Regions from separate parts of the Homo sapiens genome. Here region 2 is linked to region 1. The links are contacts of gene promoters, found by promoter capture Hi-C in human tissues and cell types (Jung and others, 2019). All regions are on one chromosome and are shown on one strand. Each heading gives the region's core, a stretch centred on a gene start or on the middle of the fragment in contact. The rest is flanking DNA. Distances are from core to core; before and after follow the strand shown. Region 1 holds the start of SPIRE1 (spire type actin nucleation factor 1). Region 2 has its middle 9.6 kb from the start of AFG3L2.

Region 1 (6,779 bases), core at 4,192-6,691:
TAATCCCAGCACCTTGGGAGGAAGAGGTGGGTGGATTACTTGAGCTCAGAAGTTCCAGACCAGCCTGGGCAACATGGTGAAACCCCGTCTCTGCAAAAAAGTACAACAGTTAGCCGGTGTGGTCGTGTGCACCTGTGGTCCCAGCTACTTGGAAGGCTGAGGTGGGAGGACTGCTTGAACCTAGGAGGTGGAGATTGCAGTGAGCTGAGATCATGCCACTGGACTCAAGCCTTGGCCTCAAGAGCCTGTCTCAAAGAATATATATTTTTGGGCCTTATTTTGTTTTTAATTTCCCACTGGAATTAAGGAGTAAGCTACTGCTTGTCCTAATGTTTGAAATCTGATCAGAATTATGTAATATGACTATAAAAGAGTATTTGGAAAGTTTGTGTTATAGGAAATGTATTTGAATTATCTCAGGCCAACTAGCAGTAATTTGGGGTAAGTCACTTAACATTTGCAGGCTCCAATTTCCATAAGCATAAAATAGTGGCTTGGCCTAAAATTCATATTTATGAGGTCTTTTCCAAGTCAAATCTTCTTAACTAGTTGAAGCTAATAATTACACTTATATTCAGATCAGAACGTCATACATTTATAATGGTTTAAAAATAATTATCTTAAAGGAGAATCACATTAAGTAGGTGAAACGTGATTATTGCTTAGCCTAGTATTTTCCAGGGTCTCTCATGAACCCATTGATACACTATTGTTCACACATTTTATCTCAATCCTCTACTTTTCGTCAAAAAAAATGTTTTTCTTTTTTTTGAGACAAGGTCTCACTCTATCGCCCAGGCTGGAGGGCAGTGGCATGATCTCGGCTCACTGCAGCCTCTGCCTCCTGGGCTCAAGCGATTCTTGTGCCTCAGCCTTCCGAGCAGCTGGGATTATAGGTGTGCACCACCATGCCTGGTTACTTTTTTGTATTTTTTGTAGAGATGGATTTTCATCACATTGCCCAGGCTGGTCTCAAACTTGTGAGCTCAAATGATGCTCCTGCCTCAGCCTCCCAAAGTGCTGGGATTACAGGTGTGAGCCCCCATGGCCGGGCTCAGGACTTTATTCTCGCTCTCTGTGAGTGTACATGGACATTGTAATGTAGGAGAAAGAGCTGAGCTGGTCAGGAGGCCTGAATTCCAGTACCAACTGTTTCATTTACTGCTTCTGTATTTTGTCCTATGACTGTATTTTCTCTTCTGTAAGATAGGAATAATAATATCTGACCCTTCAAGTTGTATAACTGAAGAGCACATTTTGAAAGTATAAATAGCACTACAGATGTATAAGGTATTACAATTGTGGGCAATGAAAATTTAGGTTACAACATTAAAAAATATGCTGTTTTTTTTTTTTCCTTTCTGGTGCACTTTTCTAGGTGAATGTGCCTCTTAGGAGCACTTGTCCAGAAGTGTCTGGGAAAAGCTTGGGCTGCACAGTGATGGTGCTCCCTGAAAGACTCAGAGCAGCACAGCCAGTACCTCCAGAGTATGAAGCATGAAGTACACTTATTCTACAAGAATAAGAAGTAAATATAAAAAAAGTCAAGGATTCAATTTTTAATAAAGTAACAAAATCAACAAAACAAAATCATATTCAGAGTAACATGGACTTCACAGCACTTTGAAAAAGACATTTAAATGTTGATTTGAGTTGTTCAGACATTTTAAATATGAAGTCATAGAGTAAAAATACAATCAATGACTGAAATTGGGAACAAAATATCCTGAACATAAAGGCATTTGAATCTTTGGATTTTTTTTTTTTCTCTTTGAGACGGACTCTCACTCTGTCACCCTGGCTGGAGTGCAGTGGTACAATCTTGGCTCACAGCAATCTCCACTTCCTGGGTTCAAGCGATTCTCCTGCCTCAGCCTCCCGAGTAGCTGGGATTACAGGCATGCATCACCATGCCTGGCTAATTTTCTTTGCATTTTTAGTAGAGACGAGGTTTCACCATGTTGGCCAGACTGGTCTCGAACTCATGGCCTCAAGCGATCTGCCTGCGTTGGCTTCCCAAAGTGTTGGGATTACAGGTATGAGCCACTGCGCCTGGCCTCAAATCTTTGAATTTGAATTGAAAATGAGAAAATGGGACAGTGCTGTTATTCCACAGGGGTGCTAGAACTCCACTGAGAAGATATCAATGGCTGGTAGCCTTTGAGTGGTCAGCAGTCACTTTCAGAGTGTTGTGATGATGGATGACGGTAAGGCTTATCAATTTTTTTTCTTCTTTTTTGAGATGAAGGCTCACTCTTGTCACCCAGGCTGGGGTGCAATGGCGTGATCTCGGCTCACTGCACGCTCCGCCTCCCGGGTTCAAGTGATTCCCCTGCCTCAGCCTCCCGAGTAGCTGGGATTACAGGTGCCTGCCACCATGCCCAGCTAATTTTTGTATTTTTAGTAGAGACAGGTTTTTGCCATGTTGGCCAGGCTGGTCTCGAACTCCTGACCTCAGGTGATCTGCCCGCCTCGGCCTCCCAAACTGCTGGGATTACAGGCGTGAGCCACCATGCCTGGCCAGCTTATCAAAACTTTAAGGAGTACTGAAAATCATTTAGAAGTTAGTAAGTTATAGTCTTTATACAAAAAAGAGTCAAGTGTTCATGTTGTATAACTACACTTAGAAGACAGCTAGGATTTTAAAGATTTTCCTTTATTTTGTGTAGAGAAGAAACATCACACAATATTCTACTTGTCATCTTTCCTCAACTTAATTACATATATGCTCACACAGGCAAAATATTTAAGTATATCATACCATGAATTGTTACTTGGCAATAAAAAAAAAAGCCCTTCTGTTGGATATAACTGTCTTGTGATACAGTGCAGTAATGTCTCCCTCTCAAAATGTGTATATGTTAAAAAAAATCATCACTCAAGGAAAATCCTAGTGTTGCAAATTTGTTTTTAAGAATGTATCTTTTGGCCGGGCACAGTGGCTCACACCTGTAATCCCAGCGCTTTTGGAGGCTGAGGCGGGTGGACCACTGAAGTCAGGAGTTTGAGACCAGCCTGGCCAACATGGTAAAACCCTGTCTTTACTAAAAATACAAAAATTAGCCAGGCATGGTAGCGTGTGCCTGTAATCCCAGCTACTCGGGAGGCCGAGGCACGAGAATCATCTCAACCCAGGAGGCGGAAGTTGCAGTGAGCTGAAATCGCGGCACTGACCCTAGCCTGGGAGACAGGGTGAGACTCTGTCTCAATTAAAAAAAAAAAAAAAATGCATCTTTTTCCATTGATTAGAGGGATGACTAAAAAAAGAAGAATGCATCTTTTAAAAGATAAAGTTTGGATTTCCTTTACTCACTTCCTCCTTCCCTGTATTGTTGTCTTCAAGATTTATTTACTGCTCTATGCCAGGGTTAGCAGGTTAATGGCTCATAGATTCCTCAGTTTATTAACCCATTTATCTTGTTTACTGGTGGGTAAGGCAAAGATAAAAATGTGTTTGGCTGTAGTTGTCCAAGTGCAATGGGCAGCAGTATCCCATAAGGCCAGGAGGTGGTAGTGTTGTCCATAAAAGTAGACCTTCATTTTTTTTCCTGGATTGTTCAAAATATTTTAAACCAGTCTGTATTTGCAAAATCCACACAGGATAAACTTTTGAAATAGCAAAATTTGGGAATGTTTGTCTGTTTTTAATCAAGAGGACAGAGATATATTTATATGTATATAGTGTCACACATAAGGAATTACATGTTTGCCTCTCTGGGCTTTGGCACACATAGATACTGCATTGCTACAAATGAGATTATGAACCTATAATTAAGTGATGCTACTTTAAGGGGTTGTTTTGTCTCTCTCGTACTGAAATTATAATAAGTTGCCTGGGGAGCTTTCTTCTCCTCTTTCAATTTATTATTTATTTTTTTGAGACAGACTCTCGCTCTGTCCCCCAGGCTGGAGTGCAGTGGTGTGATCTTGGCTCATTGCAACTTCCACCTCCCAGGTTCAAGCGATTCTCCTGCCTCAGCCTCCCGGGTAGCTGGGATTACAAGCGTGCGTCACCACACTCGGCTAATTTTCTTTGTATTTTTAGTAGAGACAGGGTTTCCCCATGTTGGCCAGGCTGGTCTCGAACTCCTGACCTCAGTGATCTGCCCGCCTCAGCCTCCCAAAGTGCTGGGATTACAGGCCTAAGCCACTGCGCACGGCCCTCTTTCAATTTCTTAATTTTCCTTTTCGTCCTGTTGCTTTTCTCCCTCCTCCCCATTCCCAGCTGTATGTAAGATGGTATCTCATTTTAATAGACTGTTGTTATTTAAATAGACTGTTGTAGTTTCTACCGCAAGATGCAATTGTTGAGAGCGTGATTTCTAACATTTTACATAAAACTGCCGTAAAAGGTTTACTGGAACTTAATATACATTGCCTATTTGGTTGATGCTTTCAACACTCTGTAGGGCTTTCACACAGGACTAGCCTCAGTGGAATTTTATCGATTAAATTAATCTACCAATGGGTGATTAAGAATTATCTGTTTTATTGCATATTTAATAGGTTGGGGGGGCGGAATTCTTTCTTTCTACGGCTAATTGCCCTCAGTTCAATTTTACCACTGTGATATTCATTCCACATGCTCTGATGAGTGTGGTACTTGAGACATTACCTTAGTGAGGGAAGGGACCAATGTTACAAATGAATCCGGAAGGACGCTAAAACTAACACCTGCAAATTATGTACATGTTTATATTCCAGGCGCTGGTTTAGCTTTTGGGAGAAGTCAGTGAGGAAAACCCGTAAAGATCCCCGTCTTTACGGTGCTTACCCTGAAGATGGGAGTGGAGAGGGAGGTATTCAACCAGCAAGAAATCGGAAAACGCGCAGAGCGGCCGCGGGGTCACGGGAAACTGCCGGAGGCTTTCAGGGCCCAGGGCCCGGCGGGGAGGCTTCAGCGGGCCTGCATTTTCTTAGGCATCCGCTCCAGGCGGGTTCAAGTTTTCAACCAGACCTTCGGCGATCCAGCGCCTAGGGAACGTCAATGCGGGTGACTTCTCCCGCTGTGCAGGGCGGTGACCCGGGTTGGCGCGCCCAGTTCCCCGCCAGAGTCGGCCGGGGACTTCCCTGATAAATGCGACACCCTCTTGCCCCTGCGCCCCCCGACCGCGCGCCCGGCCCCGCGTGTCCCCCACGCCCCACAACCCTGCACGCCCTACCCGGCCGCGCATCCCCTCCGGACCGTGCGTCGCCGCCCTCACCATTGCGCCCCCAGCTGTGTGTCCCTTGCGACCGGGCCCCCCGACCGGGCGTCACCGCCTGCGACTCTGAGAGCCCTGCGGGCTAGAGACCGTGCGGCCATCTCGCCTCGAGGCGAGGCCCTCCTGCCTGGTCCTCACCTCCAGAGCGTGCATCCCCCGGCCCGTGCGGCCCCCTAAGGGGCGGGCGCTGGGCGGCGCTGGACGGCGCGAGGCGGGGCGGGGCGGGGCGGGGCGCCGGACGCCATCGCGTCGCTACCGGCCGGCGGCTGTCTGACCGGGACTGCAGCCGTGTCCTCGCCGCCCTCCTCTTGCCCACGCCTCCCGGGCACTCGCCTGGTCCCGGCGGCGGCGCGCGCGGCCGCGTTGGGCGGCGGCGGTTCCGGGGATGGTGAGGCGGCGGCGCGCGACGACGATGCTCCGGAGCTGAGGAGACGCCGGCACACGGCGCGACTGCCGAGCGCAGCGCCCACCCGCGGGATGGCTCAGGCGGCTGGCCCGGCGGGCGGCGGGGAGCCGCGGACTGAGGCAGTGGGCGGCGAGGGGCCGCGGGAGCCCGGGGCAGCCGGCGGCGCGGCCGGGGGCTCCCGGGACGCGCTGAGCCTGGAGGAGATCCTGCGGCTGTACAACCAGCCCATCAACGAGGAGCAGGCGTGGGCCGTGTGCTACCAGTGCTGCGGTTCCCTGCGCGCCGCCGCCCGCCGCCGCCAGCCCCGCCACCGTGTGCGCTCGGCCGCGCAGATCCGCGTCTGGAGGGACGGCGCCGTCACCCTGGCGCCCGCGGCCGACGACGCGGGAGAGCCGCCCCCAGTTGCGGGTGAGGCCGCCGGGCCCCTTTCCCTCGTAGTTCTTGGAACACCCGCGGCTGGGCCGCCTTACCCTCAGCGTCCCCGGCCCTTCCGCCCCCGCCGTCCCCCCCCATTTTGCCACGGGAGACCCCCGGGAGGATCCGGCGGGGACCCGCAGGGGAGGACGGCGTCAGGCCGTGGCTGGCCGGGGCCCCTCGGAGGTCAGAGCCTCGTGGCGGGCGACGGCGCAAATCCGCTGTGCGGAGGACGTTTGGGTGGGCCTGGGCCTGCGGGCCGCGGGGCGCTCGTCATTGTGCTGCCCGCGGGACAGCTGCCCGCGGCGCGTTTGGGAGCGGTGGGCTGGGCCCTGCTCCGGGCCAGCGGCCTGTGCGCCTCACGCCGTGGCTGCTGACACACGGCCGGGTTCACGGGGTGGGGAGGGCATCGCAGGCTTCACGCGGGGGCTCCGCACGGATCCTCAGTGCCGCTGTCGGAAACACCGCACTCCTCACGGGAAACTAGCAGTATTCCACATTAGACAGCCTTTCCTCGGTTCGGAAATGTAAAGATGATTCTGAACCGTGAGAATTCTGCTCTTTGGGGAGAAATGGAAAAATAGACTAAATAGTGATTTTTGGCTCCTGGACGTTAGAAAATACTGATTGCATTCCTGTATGTGAAAATTTGTTGTGATGAAAAACAGGCTTGTAAAGTGAAAAGTTGACAGGATGTCGGGATACAAAGAGAAAATGGGCCTTAGTTACGTCATTGTCTAATGTAAAATTTTCAG
Region 2 (7,345 bases), core at 1,805-4,304, 270 kb after region 1:
AAAAAAGTCCGGGCGCGGTGGCTCACGCCTGTAATCCCAGCACTTTGGGAGGCTGAGGTGCGTGGATCACGAGGTCAGGAGATCGAAACCATCCTGGCTAACACAGTGAAACCCCGTCTCTACTAAAAATACAAAAAAATTAGCCAGGCATGGTGGTGAGCACCTGTAATTCCAGCTACTTGGGAGGCCGAGGCAGGAGAATAGCTTGAAATCTGCGAGGCAAAGCTTGCAGTAAGCTGAGATCAGGCCACTGCACTCCAGCCTGGGCAACACAGTGAGACTCCGTCTCAAAAAAAAAAAAAAAAAGAAAGAAAGAAAGAAAGAAAGTTACCTTTAAGATGTGAACATGAGAAATGAAGATACTTTTACTTTTCATTTTGTAACTTTGTTTCTGTCCACACTGATGAAAAAAAAATTTATACTGAACTTTTTTTTTATTTTGAAAGACAGAGTCTTGTTCTGTCACCTAGGCTGGAGTGCAATGGTGTGATCATAGGTCACTGCAGCCTTGAATTCTGGGCTCAGGCAATCCTCCTGCCTCAGCCTCCTGAGTAGCTTGAACTACAGGCCTGTACCAGCACACTGAGCTAATTTTTAATTTTTAATTTTTTTTTTTGAGATGGAGTCTCGCTCTGTCACCCAGGCTGGAGTGCAGTGGTGCGATCTCGGCTCACTGCAAGCTCCGCCTCCCGAGTTCATGCCATTCTCCTGCCTCAGCCTCCAGAGTGGCTGGGACTACAGGCACCCGCCACCACGCCCGGCTAATTTTTTGTATTTTTAGTAGAGACAGGGTTTCACTGTGTCAGCCAGGATGGTCTCAATCTCCTGACCTCGTGATCCACCCGCCTTGGCCTCTCAAAGTGCTGGGATTACAGGCGTGAGCCACCGCGCCTGGCCATGCGTGGCTAATTTTTGTATTTTTAGTAGAGGCCGGATTTCATCATCTTGGCCAGGCTGGTCTTGAACTCCTGACCTTGTGATCCACCCGGCCTCAGCCTCCCAAAGTGTTGGGATTACAGGCATGGGCCACCGTGCCTGGCGGTTTTTTTTTTTTTTCTTTTTTTTAGACAGAATCTCACTGTGTCTCCCAGGCTGGAGTGCAGTAGCTTGATCTTGGCTTACTGCAAACCACCCCCTCCCGGGTTCAAGTGATTCTCCTGCCTCAGCCTCCAGAGTAGTTGGGATTACAGGTGCGTGCCACCATGCCTGGCTAATTTTTGTATTTTTAGTAGGGATGGGGTTTCCTCATGTTGGCCAGGCTGGTCTTGAACTCCTGACCTCAAATGATCCGCCCACCTCAGCTTCCCAAAGTGCTGGGATTACAGGCATGAGCCACTGCACCTGGCCTAATTTTTAAATTTTTTTGTACAGACGGGGATCTCACTGTGTTGCCCAGGCTGGTCTCAAACTCCTGGCCTCAGGCCATCCTCCCCACTTGGCTTCTCAAAGTGCTGGGATTCTATAATCCACTGCACCTGGCCCCATCCTTATACTGAACCTTTTATATTTCAACATTTTACATTTTCTTGCTCGTAAAACTATTATACATTTATTATAAGATATTTGGAAAATATACATAGTCATAAAATTATTTTTTCAAAAGTACTTGTAATCTCACTCAGCACTGAAAAAAATAACATCCTTTAATAGTCTTAGATTGTATTATATTTTATTTGAATAGGTAATATTTTCACATGGTTCAATAAGGTAAACACTGTGAAAAAGCACACACCGAGAAGCTCAGACAGTCCACACCATCCTGCCTGCTGTAGGCAGCCACCTTCATTAGTCTTGCACACTCTATCAACCATCCCCCCAGCCCCTGGCAATCCCTAATCACCGTCTTCCGTCTCCATGGATTTGCCTGTTCAGCATATTTCATATGTATAAATGCAATCTTATAATATGTGGTCTTTCATGTCTGATTTCTTTGTTTCCAAGGTTTATCCATGCTATAGCATGTATCAGGTCTTCATTTTATGGCTGAATAATAATCCATTGTAATAATACACCACATTTCATTTTATCCATTCAGTTGATACATATTTAGGCCCTTTCTGGTTTTTGGCTATCATGAATAATGCTGCTATGAACACAGCATATGTACCTTTGTTATGAACACATGTACAGGTTTCTGTGTGGATATATCCTTTCAATTATCTTGGGAAGATGCCCAGGAGTGGACATGCTGAGTCATATGACTATGTTTAACCTATGAAAATTGACAGTTTTCCATAGACCTACTAGCGTGAGGGTTCCAATTTCTCCACACTCTTGATAATACTTGTTATCTTTATTATGTATACATCTATATTATTTTGTACTATCTATAGTATTTTTGATTGCAGCCCTCCTAGAGTGTGAAGTGGAATCTCGTGGTTTTGATTTGACTTTCATTGACAGCTAATGATGTTGAGCCTCTCTCTATGTGCTGGTTGGCCATTTGTATGTCTTCTTCGAGGACATGTCTATTCAAGTCCTTTGCCCATTAAAAAAATAGCTTCAATGAGATATCATTTATATACCATATAGTTCATCTATTTAAAATGTTGAAATTAATGGTTTTAGGTCATTCAAAGAGCGGTACAACCATCACCACAATTGATCTTAGGACATTTTGATCACCTTGGAAAGAAACCTGAAACCCTTAGCTAGCACCCTTCCCAATCCCTCCCCTCCCTCCATCAACCCTATATAGCCACTATCTGCTTCCGTCTCTATAGATCTGCCTATTTGGACATTTTATGTAAATTGATTCACACACTATGTGGCCTTTTTGTGTAGCATACTATTTTCAAGATTCATTCATGTTTTCTTTTCTTTTTGTTTGTTTTTTTTTTTTTTTTTGAGACGGAGTCTCGCTCTGTCGCTGGAGTGCAGTGGCACGATCTCGGCTCACTGCAAGCTCCGTCTTCCGAGTTCATGCCATTCTCCTGCCTCAGCCTCCCGAGTAGCTGGGACTACAGGCGCCTGCCACTGCGCCTGGCTAATTTTTTGTATTTTTAGTAGAGACGAGGTTTCACCGTGGTCTCGATCTCCTGACCTCGTGATCCGCCCACCTCGGCCTCCCAAAGTGCTGGGATTACAGGCGTTTTTTTTGAGACAGAGTCTCACTCCGTGGCTGAGGCTAGAGTGTAGTGGCGTGATCTTGGCTCACTTCAACCTCTGTCTCCCAAGTTCAAGTGATTCTTGTGCCTCAGCCTCCCAAGTAGCTGGGACTACAGATGTGCGCCACCATGCCTGGCTAATTTTTGTATTTTTAGTAGAGATGGAGTTTTGCCATGTTGACCAGGTTGGTCTTGAACTCCTGGCCTCAAGCAATCCACCCGCCTTGGTCTCCTAAAATGCTGGGACTACAGGCATGAGCCACCGCACCTGACCTCTTTTCTTTTTTTTTAATTGAAGCATTTTTTTCTTTTTTATTGTGCTAAAAATTTACAATATAAATTTGTCATTTAAACCATCTAAATATACAATTTGGCTGGGTGCAGGGGCTCATACCTATAATCCCAGCTCTTTGAGAGAATGAGGTAGGAGGGTTGCTTGAGGCCAGGAGTTTGAGACCAGTGTAAGCAACATAGTGACACCCTATTTCTGCAAAAAATTTAAAAAACTAGCCAGGTATAGTGGTGTGCACCTGTAGTCCCAGCTACTTTGGAGGATGAGGTGGGAGGATCACTTCAGCCCAAAGGTTGAGGCTGCAGTGAGCTATGATCACACTACTACATTCCAGTCTGGGTGACAGAGTAAGACTTTGTCTCTAAATAAATAAGTAAATAAATCAATCTAATTTCGTATATGGTGTGAGGGGTAAGGCTCCAACTCATTCTTTTGCATCCAGTTCTCCTAGAACCATTTGTTGAAAAGACTATTCTTTCTCTATTAGATGAACTTTGCATCCTTGTCAAAAATTAGTTGACATGTATGAATTTACTTCTGGATTCTTAATTATATTCTGTACGTCTATATGTCTGTCCTTATGCCAATACCTACAGTTTTGATTTTATGAAGTTTTGTAAATGAGAAGTATGAATCCTACAACTGTATTCTTTTTCAAGGTTGTATTTGGGGCCCTTTGCAATTCCATATGAATTTGAAGATTGCATTTTCATGTCTGCAAAAAGAAAAAGAAAGGAAGGAAGGAAGGATGGATGGAAGGAAGGAAGGAAGAAAGAAAGAAAAGAAAGAAAGAAAGAAAGATAAAGAAAACAAGCAAGCAGGCAGGCACTTAGAGTTGTGACTGCACTGAATCTGTAGATGGCTTTGGGCAGTTTTGCTATCTTAACAATATTGTTTTCCAATCCACTAACATGGAATACCCTTTCACTTATTTAAGTCTTCTTAAATTTCTTTTTTTAAGATGAAGTCTCACTCTGTTGCCCAGGCTAGAGTGTGCAGTGGCATGATCTCCGTTCACTGCAACCTCCACCTCCCAGGTTCAAGAGATTCTCCTGTTTCAGCCTCCCAAGTAGCTGGGACTACAGGCGTGCACCACCATGCCCAACTAATTTTTATATTTTTTTAGTAGAGACGGGGTTTCACCATATTGGCCAGGCCGGTCTCGAACTCCTGACCTCGTGATCAGCCCGCCTCGGATTCCCAAAGTGCTGGGATTACAGGCTGAGTCAGGAGAATGGCTTGAACCCAGGAGGCAGAGGTTGCAGTGAGCTGAGATTGTGCCACTGCACTCCAGCCTGGGTGACAGAGCAGCAAGACTCCATCTCAAAAAAAAAAGATAAATAAAATTGACAAAACTTATTTATTTATTTATTGAGATGGAGTCTCGTTCTGTAGTCCAGGCTGGAGTGCGGTGGCGCGATCTCAGCTCACTGCGAGCTCCGCCTCCCGGGTTCACACCATTCTCCTGCCTCAGCCTCCCAAATAGCTGGGACTACAGGCGCCCGCCACCACGCCTGGCTAATTTTTTTGTATTTTTAGTAGATACAGGGTTTCACTGTGTTAGCCAGGGTGGTCTCAATTTCCTGACCTCGTGATCCACCTGCCTTGGCCTCCCAAAATGCTGGGATTACAGGCATGAGCCACCGCACTCGGCCAAAGTTGACAAATCTTTAACTAGACTGACAAAGAAAACAGGGAGAAGTTGCAAATATCTAAAATCAGAAATAAAAGTGGGGTAACTACTATTGACCTTTTACAGGAAAAGGATTAGAGCTAGGCATGGTGGCAAATGCCTATAGTCCCAGCTACTTGGGAGGCTGAGGCAGGAGGATCACTGGAACCTGGGAGTTTAAGGCTTGTGTAAGCTATGGTCATATCACTGCACTCTGGCCTGGGCAATATAGCTAGACATGATCTCCTTTTTTTTTAGATGGAGTCTTGCTCTGTCACCCAGGCTGGAGTGCAATAGCGAGATCTCGGCTCATTGCAACCTCCACCTACCGGGTTCAGGAGATTCTCCTGCCTCAGCCTCCTGAGTAGCTTGGATTACAGGTGCGTGTCACCATGCCTGGCTCATTTTTGTATTTTTAGTAGAGACAGGGTTTCATCACATTGGTCAGGCTGGTCTCAAACTCCTGACCTCATGATCTGCCTGCCTCGGCTTCCCAAAGTGCTGGCATTACAGATGTGAGCCACTGGGCCCGGCCTATTTATCTTTTTAAGAACCAACTCCTGTTTTTGTTAATTTTCTCGATTGCTTTTCCTCTTTTCTATTTTATTTATCTCTGCTCTAATCTTTATTATTTTTTTCCTTCATCTAGCTTTGAGTTTAGTTCGTTCTTTTTCTATTCCCTCAAGGTGTAAAGTTATTGATTTGAGATCTTTCTTCTTTTTAAAATGTAGCTATTTACAGCTATAAATTTCTGTTTGAGAACTGCCTTCACTGCATCCATAAGTTTCAGCATATTGTGTTTTTATTCTCCTTTGTCTCGCAGTATTCTCTAATTTTCCTTGTGATTTCTTCTCTCAGTCATTGGCTATTTGAGGGTGTGTTGTTTCACAGCCACATATTTGTGAGTTTTCCAGTTTTCCTCTTGTTATTGATTTTTAACTTCATTCCAATGTGGTCAGAGAAGATAGTTTGCATGATTTCAGTCTTTTTAAATCTATTGAGACTTGTTTTGTGGCCTATCATATGGTCTATCCCAGAGAATGTTTCCTGTGCACTTGAGAAGAATGTGTATTCTGTTGTTGGGAGGAGCTCTGCATATACGTCTTGTAGGTCTAGTTGGTTTATGGTTTATTTTATTTTATTTTTTTTGAGACAGGGTTTCACTCCCTTTGCTCAGGCTGGAGTGCAGTTGCATGCTCTCTGCTCACTACAAGCTCTTCCTCCTGTGCTCAAGCAATCCTTCTGCCTCAGCCTCTCAAGTAACTGGGACTACAGGCATGCGCCACCATGCCTGGCTAATTTTTTTATTTTTAGTAGAGACAAAGTTTCACCATGTTGGCCAGGCTGGTTTTGAACTCCTGAACTCAAGTGATCTGCCTGCCTCAGCCTCTGAAAGTGCTGGGATTACAGGTGTGAGCTATAGTATTGTTTAGCTGGGTGTGGTGGCTCACATCTATAATCTCAGCACTTTGGGAGGCTGAGGCAGGAGGATTACTTGAGCCCAGGAGGTCAAGGTTGCAGTGAGCTGTGATTGTGCCACTGCATTCCAGTCTGGATGACAGAGCAAGATCCTGACTTAAAAATACAACATGGCCGGTTGCAGTGGCTCACGCCTGTAATCCCAGAACTTTGGGAGGCTGAGGCAGGTGGATCGCCTGAGGTCGGGAGTTCAAGACCAGCCTGACTAACATGGAGAAACCCTGTCTCTACTAAAAATACAAAATTAGCTGGGCATGGTGGCACATGCCTGTAATCCCAGCTACTCGGGAGGCTGAGGCAGGAGAATCACTTGAACCCGGGAGGCGGAGGTTGCGGTGAGCCGAGATCACGCCATTGCCCTCCAGCCTGGGCAACAAGAGCAAAACTCCATCTCAAAAAAACAAAAACAAAAACAAAAAAACCACAACACACACACTCACACACACACACACACACACAGTCCTCCATTTCCCAATGATCTTCTGTGTAAATGTTATATCCATTATTAAAAGTAGTGTATTGAAGTTTCCAGCTATTATTGTAGAACCATCTATTTCTACCTTCAATTCTATCAATATTTGCTTCATATATTTTGGGGGCTCTGTTGAATGGTGTGCATATGTTTATAATTGTTATATCTACTTGATGAATTGATCCTTTTGTCAGTATATTATGTCCTTCCTTGTGTCTTATAAGAGTTTTTATCTTTTTTTTTTTTTTTTTTTTTTGAGACTGAGTCTCTCTCTGTCACCCAGGCTGGAGTGCAGTGGCGCAATCCGGGCTCACTGCAACCTC

What was found. The method cuts DNA at HindIII sites, captures the fragments that hold promoters and counts their contacts. A contact is called where the count stands out against the background at its distance.
Region 2: a fragment that was not itself captured here is called in contact with the fragment with the promoter of SPIRE1 in region 1 in 5 of the 25 tissues and cell types used here (dorsolateral prefrontal cortex, hippocampus, lymphoblastoid cells and 2 more).

The regions. Positions count from the first base shown.
Region 1 is chr18:12,656,769-12,663,547 of GRCh38, reverse strand. SPIRE1 (spire type actin nucleation factor 1) reads left to right here and starts at 5,441. Exons shown (of 17, transcript NM_001128626.2): 1 at 5,441-6,018. The coding sequence starts at 5,682. It also overlaps a transcript of PSMG2 not described here and a transcript of CEP76 not described here. RefSeq lists silencers at 4,982-5,131, 5,182-5,251, 5,254-5,422, 5,292-5,711, 5,902-6,021. The HindIII fragment of the contact is 13,339 bases long and covers 1-6,779 here.
Region 2 is chr18:12,383,163-12,390,507 of GRCh38, reverse strand. No RefSeq gene overlaps it. Among named protein-coding and RNA genes, the nearest start is that of AFG3L2, 9.6 kb to the right of the region's middle. The HindIII fragment of the contact is 5,953 bases long and covers 78-6,030 here.